Regions from separate parts of the Homo sapiens genome. Here region 1 is linked to region 2. Evidence: promoter capture Hi-C in 16 types of primary human blood cells and fetal thymus (Javierre and others, 2016). All regions are on one chromosome and are shown on one strand. The core of a region is centred on a gene start or on the middle of the fragment in contact, and the rest is flanking DNA. Distances in the headings are between cores, read along the strand shown. Region 1 has its middle 3.0 kb from the start of SCFD2. Region 2 holds the start of PPAT (phosphoribosyl pyrophosphate amidotransferase).

Region 1 (5,533 bases), core at 2,445-4,944, 3.1 Mb before region 2:
TCAGATAATCTTCTCATGTTCCTTGAAAAGTCTCCGAAATAAAAACCTAATCCGAAATTTGGTATCTTCCTTAGATATGAACACGTCTCCAAAAGTACAGCCACCTTCTCAATCTAAACTCAGAGCAACTAGAAAAAGATAATAAAAACAACCGTGTGCAATATTTTGGGTTTATAGATTGCTGTCACATACGTTATCGCCCACAAGCCTCATAACAAACCCTGTTGTTCTCATTTTCACTTTCTCCATCTTTCCTCCCTCATCTCATCGTCACTACATCTTATAGGCTTAAAAACTCTCAGAATTCAGCCCTTCCTCTCCATTTTTGCTGTCACAAAAACCCAACATCATCGCTCACCCAGGCAATGATCTCCCAACATTTTCTGACTTTTGATCTCTTTACCCTCCAATTCTATTTTCTTCCTAATAAACAAAGTTGGTCCTACAACTTTCCTGCTTAAAAGCTTCTCCTAGCCCAGTTGCCTATAGGATACATCCACACTCTTTAAAAAGCATCAACATCCTTCTTGATTTCTCAATTTCTCTCCAGCTATTCCCAACATGGAGAAAAATTGTACCGATACAATGAAGTCAATAGGCTGAACCCAAAATGTTTTATGGGTTCTGTTTGTTCCACCAATATACTTACATTACTAAGTATAATCTCTGTGCTAAGCTTCAAAGATGCAATGGTTAATAAAATTCATTACCTAATCCACAAAGAATTTACCTGGTAAACTTACCGAAAATAATCATTCCAACAGTACTGCCTGTGAGAGACTTTTTCTAACTCACCACCACTATCACCCTATCACCTCTCACTTCCCCCACCTATCAAACCACTCAATTGATACATTCGCTAAGTACTTGCCATATCATGGGGTAAGTATTAACACTATTTTCTTTAAACTATCTGTTTTGCTAAATTATGCACTAGATGCTTGGTATCCCCAACACTTATAACAGGTGTTCAATAAATGTTCGTTGAATGAATGTTCAATTAATATCCATGGCCAGGCGCGGTGGCTCATGCCTGTAATCCCAACACTTTGGGAGGCCGAGGTGGGCAGATCACCTGAGGTCAGGGGCTCAAGACCAGCTTGGCCAACATGGTGAAGCTCCGTCTCTACTAAAAGTACAAAAAATAGCTGGACATGGTGGCAGGTACCTGTAATCCCAGCTACTCGGGAGGTTGAGGCAGGAGAATCACTTGAACCCAGGAGGGAGAGGTTGCAGTGAGCCAAGATGGCACCACTGCACTCCAGCCTGGGCGACAGAGCGAGACTCTGTCTCAAAAAAAAAAAAAATTCCACATAATAATATATCCAGCCAATTTTTAATAAATACGTACAGTATTCCAAACACTGTCTGGGTTTTAAGGATATAAAGAAAACTAAACCACAGCCCTGATTTCAAAATAATTATGATGAAATAAAGGGACCCACACATGTAAAACAAGTGCAATAAAATGTTACAGAAGCAAATACTTTTTAAAATTTTTTGTATAGGAGTCAAGAAGGAGGAAAAATAAATTCTAAGAGAAAAAGGAAGAAGTCAGAAAAAGCTTCATATAGGGCATGAGTTTTGACTTGCCTTCAAAGAAACCCAGGTGTTCACCAGGTGGACAGGATGGGGAGGAGGATTCTTAGCAGTCCAGGCACAGAGTGCAGCATAAACAAAGTCGTAGAGGCATAAAACAGTACAATATGTTCTCTGGAACTACAAAGGGTTTCCTATAGCTGGAGTGCATTGTATGAAAAAAGGCGCAAGAAGAAATAAGAGCAAGGAATTAGAAAAGAAAGAAATGGGCTAGATCAGCAAGAGCCTTATTTTCCATTCTAAGTAGTAGCAGCCAGTGGGGAAGTATTAATGTATTTTGGGGTATGGAAATAATTTGTTCACATCTGGATTTTAGAAAAAAAATGGTTCTAGTCAAAACATGGAAAATAATTTGAAATGGAGCAATTTAGCGCAGAGGGAGCAGTTAAGAAAATAATAGTATCAGCAGCAAATCTGGGTGAGAGAGTTGAAAAGCGTAACAAGCAGATGGACAGAGTGGGGAGTATGAATAGACGTTAAGAATATAGTGCCAAAGGGCTTGCTTATTAGTTTGACAGAGAGGGTGACACGGAAGGAGAATTTCAGGTTAGCACCCAGCTTTCTGTCTGGATGACTGATGAATGCCAGTCATTGAGATTTGAAAAACCATTAAGAGAAGCAGATTGCGGAATAAATACAGAGTTTAGTGGGGACATATTTTTGTTTGTTTGTTTCCTTATGGCAAGATAAGTGTAACATAAAAGTCACACCATCTTAACCATTGTAAAATGTACATTTTGGTGGCATTAAGTACATTCACATTGTTGTATAACCAATCTCTGAACTTCTTGTCTCACAAAACTGAAACCCTGTACCCATTAAACAACAACTCCCCATTCCCCCTCTCCACAGTCCTTGGTGACTTCCACTCTACTTTCTGTTTCTATGAGTTGACTACTCTAGTTGTTGGCAATGTAGTAGTTGACTACTCTAGATACCTCATATAAGTGGAACAATACAGTATTTGTTTTGTTGTGATTGACTTATTTCACTTAGCATAAAGTCCTCCAAGTTAATCTATATTGTAACGTGCATCAGAATTTTCTTTCTTTTTGAGGCTGAATAACATTCCATTGTATGTTACACCATTTTGTTTATCCATTCATCTGCCTATGGACATTTGGTCTGCTTCCACCTTTTAGCTATTGTGAATAATGGCACCTTGAATATGCAGCAGAAGAGTCATAAACCTGGTAGAACCTAGTAGGTAAAAGGGCCAATGACAGACCCAAGTTCAAATGTTGAACTAGTAAACAAGAAGATATTCCTACATGTTTGTATCCTTGTCAGCATGAAAATTATTTTAAGGAGCTTAAGTTGAATAAGTTGTTGGATGACAGCCCTTGCTCTTCCATTTAAACCCAGGTCAGTGCCTAGTTACTAACACCTGCATTAATCTTGATCTCAAGCTCACTTTTTGTTTCTACCCCTTGCATCTCATGCTGAATCATACATTCATTAGGTAAGTTTGAGTGAATTAATACTTCATCTTCTCTGAAAGGGCAAGGCACTCATGAAGTCATGGTTGAATATTGTGCCAGTAAGTGCTAGTGGTCGCCTCAATATTTATTTGTCTCTTCTTCTGTAGTAATAGGTTTATTCTGAACTCATAGACACACAGCTAAAGACTACTTTTCCAAGCCTCTTGCAGCTAGCTATGGACAAATGATGAGGCACGGGTGAATAAGATAGTTGGAAGTGACACATACAGATTTCAAATAATTCCCTAAAGGTGTATGGTTTTCTTTCCCTACAAATCCTACTTTCAGTTCTTTTGTACATGGACCCAGAGTGGAATTGCTGGATCATATGATAATTCTATTTTTAACTTCTTGATGGACCTCTGTTTTTGTTTTGTTTTTTACAGAGGCTGCAACATTTTATATTCCTACTAATAATGCACAGGGGTTCGGATTTCTCCACATCCTTGCCAACACTTGATATTTCCTGGGTTTTTTGATAATGGCCATCCTAATAGGTGTGGGGACATGAGGTTTTCAATATGCTTGTGGGACATCGAGGCAGAAACATCTAGCATGCTGTTGGATGTGTGATTCCAGAATACAGAAGAGAAATATGGTAATTGGGATTATTAGTAAATGGGTGTGCTTCAGAGTGCCTTAAGAGAACACAAAAAAGAAAGAAGACAATGATGGTGATGGAGAGAACTCTGAGCAACTTTTCTTGATGGGCAGAAGAAGTCAAGCCAGTGAATGGAGTAATGAGAGGTGCAAGTTTTAAGACTAGAGTGGCCAACAGTGGCAAGTGTCAGAAAAGGGAAAAGAGAGGGAATATGAGAAGAATCTACAGGATTTGACCTGTGCAGGAAGAAAGTACAGTCATGACAAGGGAGTGCTGGGGGTGCAGTGCAGAATGAGTCAATGGATTGGGGAAAATGCAGCTTCTAGAAATTATCTACACAGTTCCTAGAAAAGAAGGTGGTAGGGGAATGAGGAGGTAAAAAAGTTGGAAGAATATGAAGTTAGGGTCAAAGAAAGTAACTTGGCCTCTACGATTCAGGGAGGGAACGCTTTTTTTTTTTTTTTTTTTTTTTTTTTCAGAGACAGAGTCTCACTCTGTCTCACAGGTTGGAGTGCAGTGGCACAATCATAGCTCACAGCAGACTCAAACTCCTGACTTCAAGCAATCCTCCGGCCGCAGCCTCTTGAGTAGCTAGGACTACAGGTGCACACAACTACACATGGCTAATTTTTTTTTTTTTTTGAGATGGAATCTTGCTCTGTCCCCCAGGCTGGAATGCAGTGGCACAATTTCACTGCTCACTGCAAGCTCCGCCTCCAGGGTTCACACCATTCTCCTTCCTCAGCCTCCTGAGTAGCTGGGACTACAGGCACCTGCCACCACGCCTGGCTAATTTTTTGTATTTTTAGTAGAGACAGGATTTCACTGCGTTAGCCAGGATGGTCTCGATCTCCTGACCTCGTGATCAGCCCACCTCGGCCCCCCAAAGTGCTGGGATTACAGGCGTGAGCCGTTGTGCCCGGCCAGCTAATTTTTTTCTTTCATTTTTTTTTTTACAGAGACAGGGTCTTGCTGTGTTGCCCAAGCTGGCTTGAACTCCTGGGCTCAAACCATATTCTGACCTTGGCTTCCCAAAGCACTGGGATTACAGGTGTGAGCCACTGCGCCCAGCCAAGGAGGGAAAAATTCTAGGATATAATAAGATCCAGGGTATAACCCTGAATGTGCCCTAAGGAAGTAGAGTGAATGAAGACCATTAGACTCCAGAAGGTCAGAAAACATGAGTCAAGCAACATATGCAAGTCACACATCATGATGGAGGAAAGGAAGACTGTGGACTTCAACCGCAGATATCACTTGTAGTTGAAGGAAAATGAAAAAGGAGAAGAGGTGGTAAATACAAATGGTATGAGCTGGAAAAGAGGAAGGTTTTTTCACAGCAAAATGGGAACCGTAATGGCCTGGTAGTGGTCCACAAGAACCGGGGGAATGACAGCACTATCTCAAGCATTCACAGTACAACAGGGTGAAGGATAATGGCAGATATTCAGTATAGAAAGATAAGGAGAAGTCCTGTCCTTGGAGGGAAGTTAGATTTTGGTTTAGTGAACAAGTAGAGACATCCTTCTGCTAAAATACTGAAACTGTTGGGCATGCACATAAAATGGAACAAAGGTAGGGACTGAGAGCTAAATGCAGAGTTGGGGATCAGGTCTGGAAGAACTTGGAGGGAATAAGCACAGAGACTGTCTTAGTTTGGGCTGTCACAACAAAAATACCATAGACTGGGTGACATAAGCAAAGAAAGTTTATTTCTCACTGTTCTGGAGACTGGAAAGTACAAAATCAAGGTGCTCACATAATTCATTTCTAATGGCAGCCCTCTCTCTGGCTCACCAATGGCTGGCCACCTTTGTGCTGTATTCTCAGTTGGTGAAAAGCAGGCAGAGAG
Region 2 (5,438 bases), core at 366-2,865:
AGAATGTTACAAACTAATGTTGCTCACAACTACCACATAATCAAGAGTTTACTTTCTCCTTGGATTACGTAACTAATTTTCTCAATAAACTTTTTTTAAAAAAAACAAGAAATCTATTATGGTCAACCCACAATTATCCAAGATTGGAGCTACGCAAGTTAAAAATATTCTTTTTGATGCTTCCCACATTCTCAGCTCTTTAGTAAACAAGGAACACACAAAATGTGAAACTGAAATTGAAGTACCTGGGACAATGAAAACAGCAAAAAATACTTCTAATTTAAGTTTGGTGGAGGAAAAGCTAATCTTTTGGAATGCGTTTATACGTGTTGCACCCATTTTGCTGTTACGTGTTATTGCCAAGTTCCTTAACTGTAGTGTAAGTTGTTACCACTGTATTGCCTTATGGAAACTGTAATACTTTCAGTAAGAATATCAAACCCAGGTTTGTTTTTCTTATCCTAGTGTAATAATTTATATCAACTTCCAGTTAAGTCAGGTAGTAAGAAAAGGAAAGATCACCGAAGCAAAGTAATTTTTTTTAACTCGAAAGGATCTCCCAATTTTTCAAAATCAAGTGTATGGATCTTGGCATAGAGACACTACTCCCCTGTCCCCCTTTTGAAGAAGGGAGTTAATTTTTGTCATGTTATTACCAACGTTTTCATTCATTAGGCAAGACGTCTACCAATGAATCTTTTCCAGATGCACTGTTCCCTATGGTTGGCTTATTTCCATTTAATTTATGTGAGATCTACTACCAGTAGTCATTCTCAACATCAACTAGTCATCTTTCCCTGGGTCTGAAGTCTAGCATCCTCAAGTTCCCATAGCGATAACTACTTTCAAACCCATAATCTGCTCAATAGCTCTGCCCTTGCAAACAAAAGCTTGTGGTGGTTGGAGGCCCCGCGCGAAAACCTTTAGGTGTTGAAGGACCTGGACTGGCCGCCACGCCACACTAGCCTATTACAGGAGCAGCCACAGGCTCCGGGAGACTAGAACCCGCCTGCAGTCGGGGAGGAGCCCTGACCCAGCTAGACCAAGCAAACCGGCGGTTTACAAGCTGGCCAGCCTCTGGATGGGTGCACACACCGGGGGGCGGGGAGGGAGAGAGCCCCTAAAAGGCATAAGTGGCTGGGAGGGTGGGCAGGACAGGCTAAAGTTCATGGAAGCGAGGTGCCCCTCGTGCACGCCTAGGCAACCCGGTCGACGCCACAGGCAGGTACTGGCTTAGGTCGGAGAGGTCGGTCCTCCCGGGCCCTCGGGCGCTCATGAGAACGCCGACTGCGGGAAGCGGCTCCGAGAGATGGAGACGCACGCCCCCGCCACCCCCACCCTGTTGCTCACCGGTGCTGCAGCCCCACGAGTCCCAGAGTGATCACATGCGGTACATCCAGCTGCGTGGGCCACTCTCCTGAGGCGATGCACCCGAACACGCCACATTCCTCTCGGATCCCCAACTCCTCCAGCTCCATGTCGCCGCCGAAAGCACGTGGAAGGACCTGCCGCTGCGGCCAAGGTGTAAGCACCAACCAGCTGCCAGCTCGGCCCGTCGAGCTCAGAAGCTCGCGCTCGCGACAGGCTCTTCCTTCCCGAGGGTGGCCCCAGCTACTGCGGCGGCGCGCGCTGTCCCTAGGTGGCGTGGCCAGCTCAGCCCTGCTCCTCCCCCTCCGAGTCCACCAACGAGCGAGGGCGGAGGGGCGGTCCCGCGGCTGAGGGGCGGGGTCACGGATGCTGTAGGGTGGAGCTAGCCTTCCCCTAAGAGCTGCCTGGAAAGCTGTATTTGCTGCACGTGGAAATCTCCGTTATTTTCCAGCACCCAACAGTAGCGTAATGGGAGTAACGGACTTAACCTCATTTCTCTTTCAGAGCATTTAGCCTTCATATGCCCTTCCCTGCATGCTTCCCCCAGGCCGTCAAGACTTGGTACGCTCCAACTTCTGAGTCGCTCCCGCAGCCGAGAAGGGGCCGGGGTATGCGAGCTTCCGCAGAGTGGGGAGGGGCCGCCAGTGCGCGCCACTTTTCGCCTGTCCGGGCACTGCGCCAGCGCGGGGCGGCCCGGAGGCGGGGTCGCGTCTCTGCGCCTGCGCGGCGGGAAGCCAGTGGGGCGTTGTTTCGTCCGATATCCGCGTTTCAGTCTCCGCCCATACCCCTCCGGGTTAGGCGGCTGTAGCGGAGCTCGAAAAGAGTGGCGCAGGGTCGCGCGGCCCCGCCTCCTTCCCCGCCCAGCGAAGCTCTCTGACCACCCCTCTTTTCTAGAGTTCTGCCTCGCTTCCCGGCGCGGTCGCAGCCCTCAGCCCACTTAGGATAATGGCGACAGCTGAGGGTGAGTAACAGGGATCCGGGCCCTTCACGGTCTCCCTGACCCCCAGGCCGTGAGCTCGCGGCCACGTGCGAGCCGCGAAACTCTGTCCCGCCTCCCTGCAGCAGCGCCTCTAGGCAGCCGCGCGGGCGCACACGTGGCCCAGGCGCTCCCGGGCCTCCCCGAACTTTACTGCCTCGGGGATGGGGAGAAGGAGCAAAGTAGAGGAGAACGAGAAATGGCCAAGGGGTGGAAAGGTGCCTGGAAGTATTATTTATAATCAATAGCTATTGCAAAATACAAGCAAATCAGTCTTGATTCGTCAAAACCTGAGTCTTGCTTTGCCCGTTAGGTTAATGACCTTTCTAAGAAGGTTAATAATTGAAACTTTTGAAAGACCTGTCTAGAGGCCGGGCCTGGTGGCTCACGCCTGTAATCCCAGCACTTTGGGAGGCCAAGGCGGGCGGATCACCTGAGGTCAGTAGTACGAGACCAGCCTGGCCAACATGGCGAAACCCCGTCTCTTACTAAAAATACAAAAAATTAGCTGGACGTGGTGGCGCGCGCCTGTAATCCCCAGCTACTCAGGAGGCTGAGGTAGGAGAATCGCTTGAACCCGGAGGCGGAGGTTGCAGTGAGCCGAGATCGCGCCATTGCACTCCAGCCTGGGCGACAAAGCGAGACTCCGTCTCAAAAAAGAAAAAGAAAAACCTGTCTAGGGGGCGTGTGTGTAAGTAGTCTTTGATGCCATGGTGTGTGTGTGTGTGTGCACGCGCGCGTGAAGTAGTCTTTGATGCCACGATAGCTTGGGGTGTGTGTACGTGCGTGTGCGTGTTTAAGTAGTCTTTGATGTCATGGGTGTGTATGTGTGTGCGCGCGCGTGTTGAAGTAGTCTGATTCCATGATGGCTGGGGAGGGGGGCTGTTTTTAGGTAGTCTTTGATGCCATGATGGTGTGTGTGTGTGTGTGTGTGTGTGTGTGTGTGTGTGTGTGTTCGTTCCAGTAGTCTTTGATGCCACGATGGCTTTGAAGAACTCCAAAACCTTTAGGCAAAAAAGTTGCACTATCAGGAAAGATTGTTCTTGCTATTTATGCTGGAAAAAAACAAATGCTGGTTTTTTCCACACACCCAGTTGCTATATGTATAGTGAGGCAAATTGCTTTTGTGGCTGCTGGGTACATTCTTTTCCACATAGAAAGTAACTGAATTCAGATTTTAAAAAGCTGTAGACTCAGGCCGGGCGCTGTGGCTCACGCCTGTAATCCCCAGCACTTTGGGAGTCCCAGGCGGGCGGATCACGAGGTCAGGAGATCGAGATCATCCTGACCAACATGGTGAAACCCCGGCTCTACTAAAAATGCAAAAATTTGCTGGACGTGGTGGCGTATGCCTGTAATCCTAGCTACTCGGGAACCTGAGGCAGGAGAATCACTTGAACCGGGGAGTCAGAGGCTGCAGTGAGCCGGGATCGCGCCACTGCACTCCAGCCTGGCGACAGAGAGAGACTCTGTCTCAAAAAAAAAAAAAAAAAAAAAAAAAAGCTGTAGACTCAGCAAAAAAGATTCAGATGATATTGAGTATCAACTCCCTAGAATCAAGGCAAGGACCAGAATTTTTCTTGCAATCATGGTACCTGTACCTCTAAAATGGCAAATCTCTAAAATCTTTGCTCTTCCACTTCTTTCCATTTGTGTACCGTTGGCAGGTTGATTTTTCTTAAATGTCACTTTTATGGTCTCTAAAAGGCAAAAGTGGCAACAAAGGCAAAAATGGCATCTCTAGAGATGTTAAATCCAGTCTGTCCAGTCTGAAATCCCTTTTCATTCAAATCCTGAATACTGCTATCCCTTCTACCTCTTCAGCCCTAACTTTGATTTTTCTCTCCTGTGAATCCTTAGCTATGTTCCAGTCAGGTTAATTCACCAAAGTTTGTTTTTCATTATATACATTTTATTTATATTATTTTTCCCAGAACATTGCTGGCTAATGGAAATATAATGTAAATTTGTCTTCTATAAGCCACATTTTAAAAAGTAAAATAATAAAAAAAACTGGTGCAATGTGTTTATATATATATATATATATATATATATATATAAAAGGTTTTTTTTGTTGTTGTTTTTTGTTTGTTTTGCTTTGTTTTTGAAATGGAGTCTCGCTCTGTGTGGCCCAGGCTGGAGTGCAGTGGCAAGATCTCAGCTCACTGCACCCTCCACTTTCCAGGTTCAAGTGATTCTCCTGCCTCAGCCCCCCAAGTAGCTGGGATTACAGGCACACTCCACCACACCCGGCTAATTTTTTTTTGTATTTTTTAGTAGAGTCAGGGTTTTGCCATGTTGGCCAAGCTGGTCTCAAACTCCTGACCTCAAGTGATCTGCCTGTCTCAGCCTCCCAAAGTGCTGGGATTACAGGCGTGAGCCCATTTTAATATATTTTATTTAACCCTATATACACAAAATACATTTCAACATGGAGTCAAGATGAAAAATTCTTTAGATATTTTACAATTTTTTATATCGAATGCAGTATATATTTTAACAAATGACATTTCAACTTGTAATAGCCACATTTCTAGTGGCTGCCTTATTGGACAGCAGAGTCCTAGAATTTTCTTATCCTTTGTGTAAATTCTGTGCTTTCCCAGACTCTTAAATTTCAATTCCATGAATCATTTTCAGTCCTCATCAATCTTTCCAGAATTCATCTACAAATTTGTAGCAACCATTTTGGTACTTGCAGGGTATGTCACGTATGGTTGTTTCTTATGTTGTTTCTACCCATTAATTCAAATTCCTTCCCTCTTTAATGACTAAGTAATACAGATTCAACTAAATTAAGGGGAGGGGCATTAGATACAAACTTTGCCCGGGCTTACTGCATATTAATATATATAAATGTTAATTTCTTTATCTGATCTGGGCACTGTTTTTTTTGTTTTTGTTTTTTCTTGAGACGGAGTCTCCCTCTCTTGCCCAGGCTGGAGTGCAGTGGCGCCATCTCAGCTCACTGCAACCTCCGCCTTTCAGGTTCAAGCGATTTTCCTGCCTCAGCCTCCCAAGTAGCAAGGATTACAGGCGTGCACCAACACATCCGGCTAATTTTTGTAATTTTAGTAGAGACAGGATTTTACCA

Evidence for each region. Contacts are between HindIII fragments. The CHiCAGO score rates a contact against its expected background, and 5 or more counts as called.
Region 1: a contact is called between a fragment that was not itself captured here and the fragment with the promoter of PPAT in region 2, in 1 of 17 cell types (neutrophils). The highest score is 5.0, in neutrophils.

The regions. Positions count from the first base shown.
Region 1 is chr4:53,366,280-53,371,812 of GRCh38, forward strand. No RefSeq gene overlaps it. Among named protein-coding and RNA genes, the nearest start is that of SCFD2, 3.0 kb to the left of the region's middle. The HindIII fragment of the contact is 4,265 bases long and covers 1,563-5,533 here.
Region 2 is chr4:56,434,000-56,439,437 of GRCh38, forward strand. It overlaps PPAT (phosphoribosyl pyrophosphate amidotransferase), which reads right to left and starts at 1,616. Exons shown (of 11, transcript NM_002703.5): 1 at 1,351-1,616. The coding sequence starts at 1,478. PAICS (phosphoribosylaminoimidazole carboxylase and phosphoribosylaminoimidazolesuccinocarboxamide synthase) reads left to right here and starts at 2,261. Exons shown (of 9, transcript NM_001079524.2): 1 at 2,261-2,329. The coding sequence starts at 2,314. RefSeq lists enhancers at 1,321-1,500, 2,348-3,231 and silencers at 1,591-1,790, 1,931-2,220. The HindIII fragment of the contact is 7,763 bases long and covers 889-5,438 here.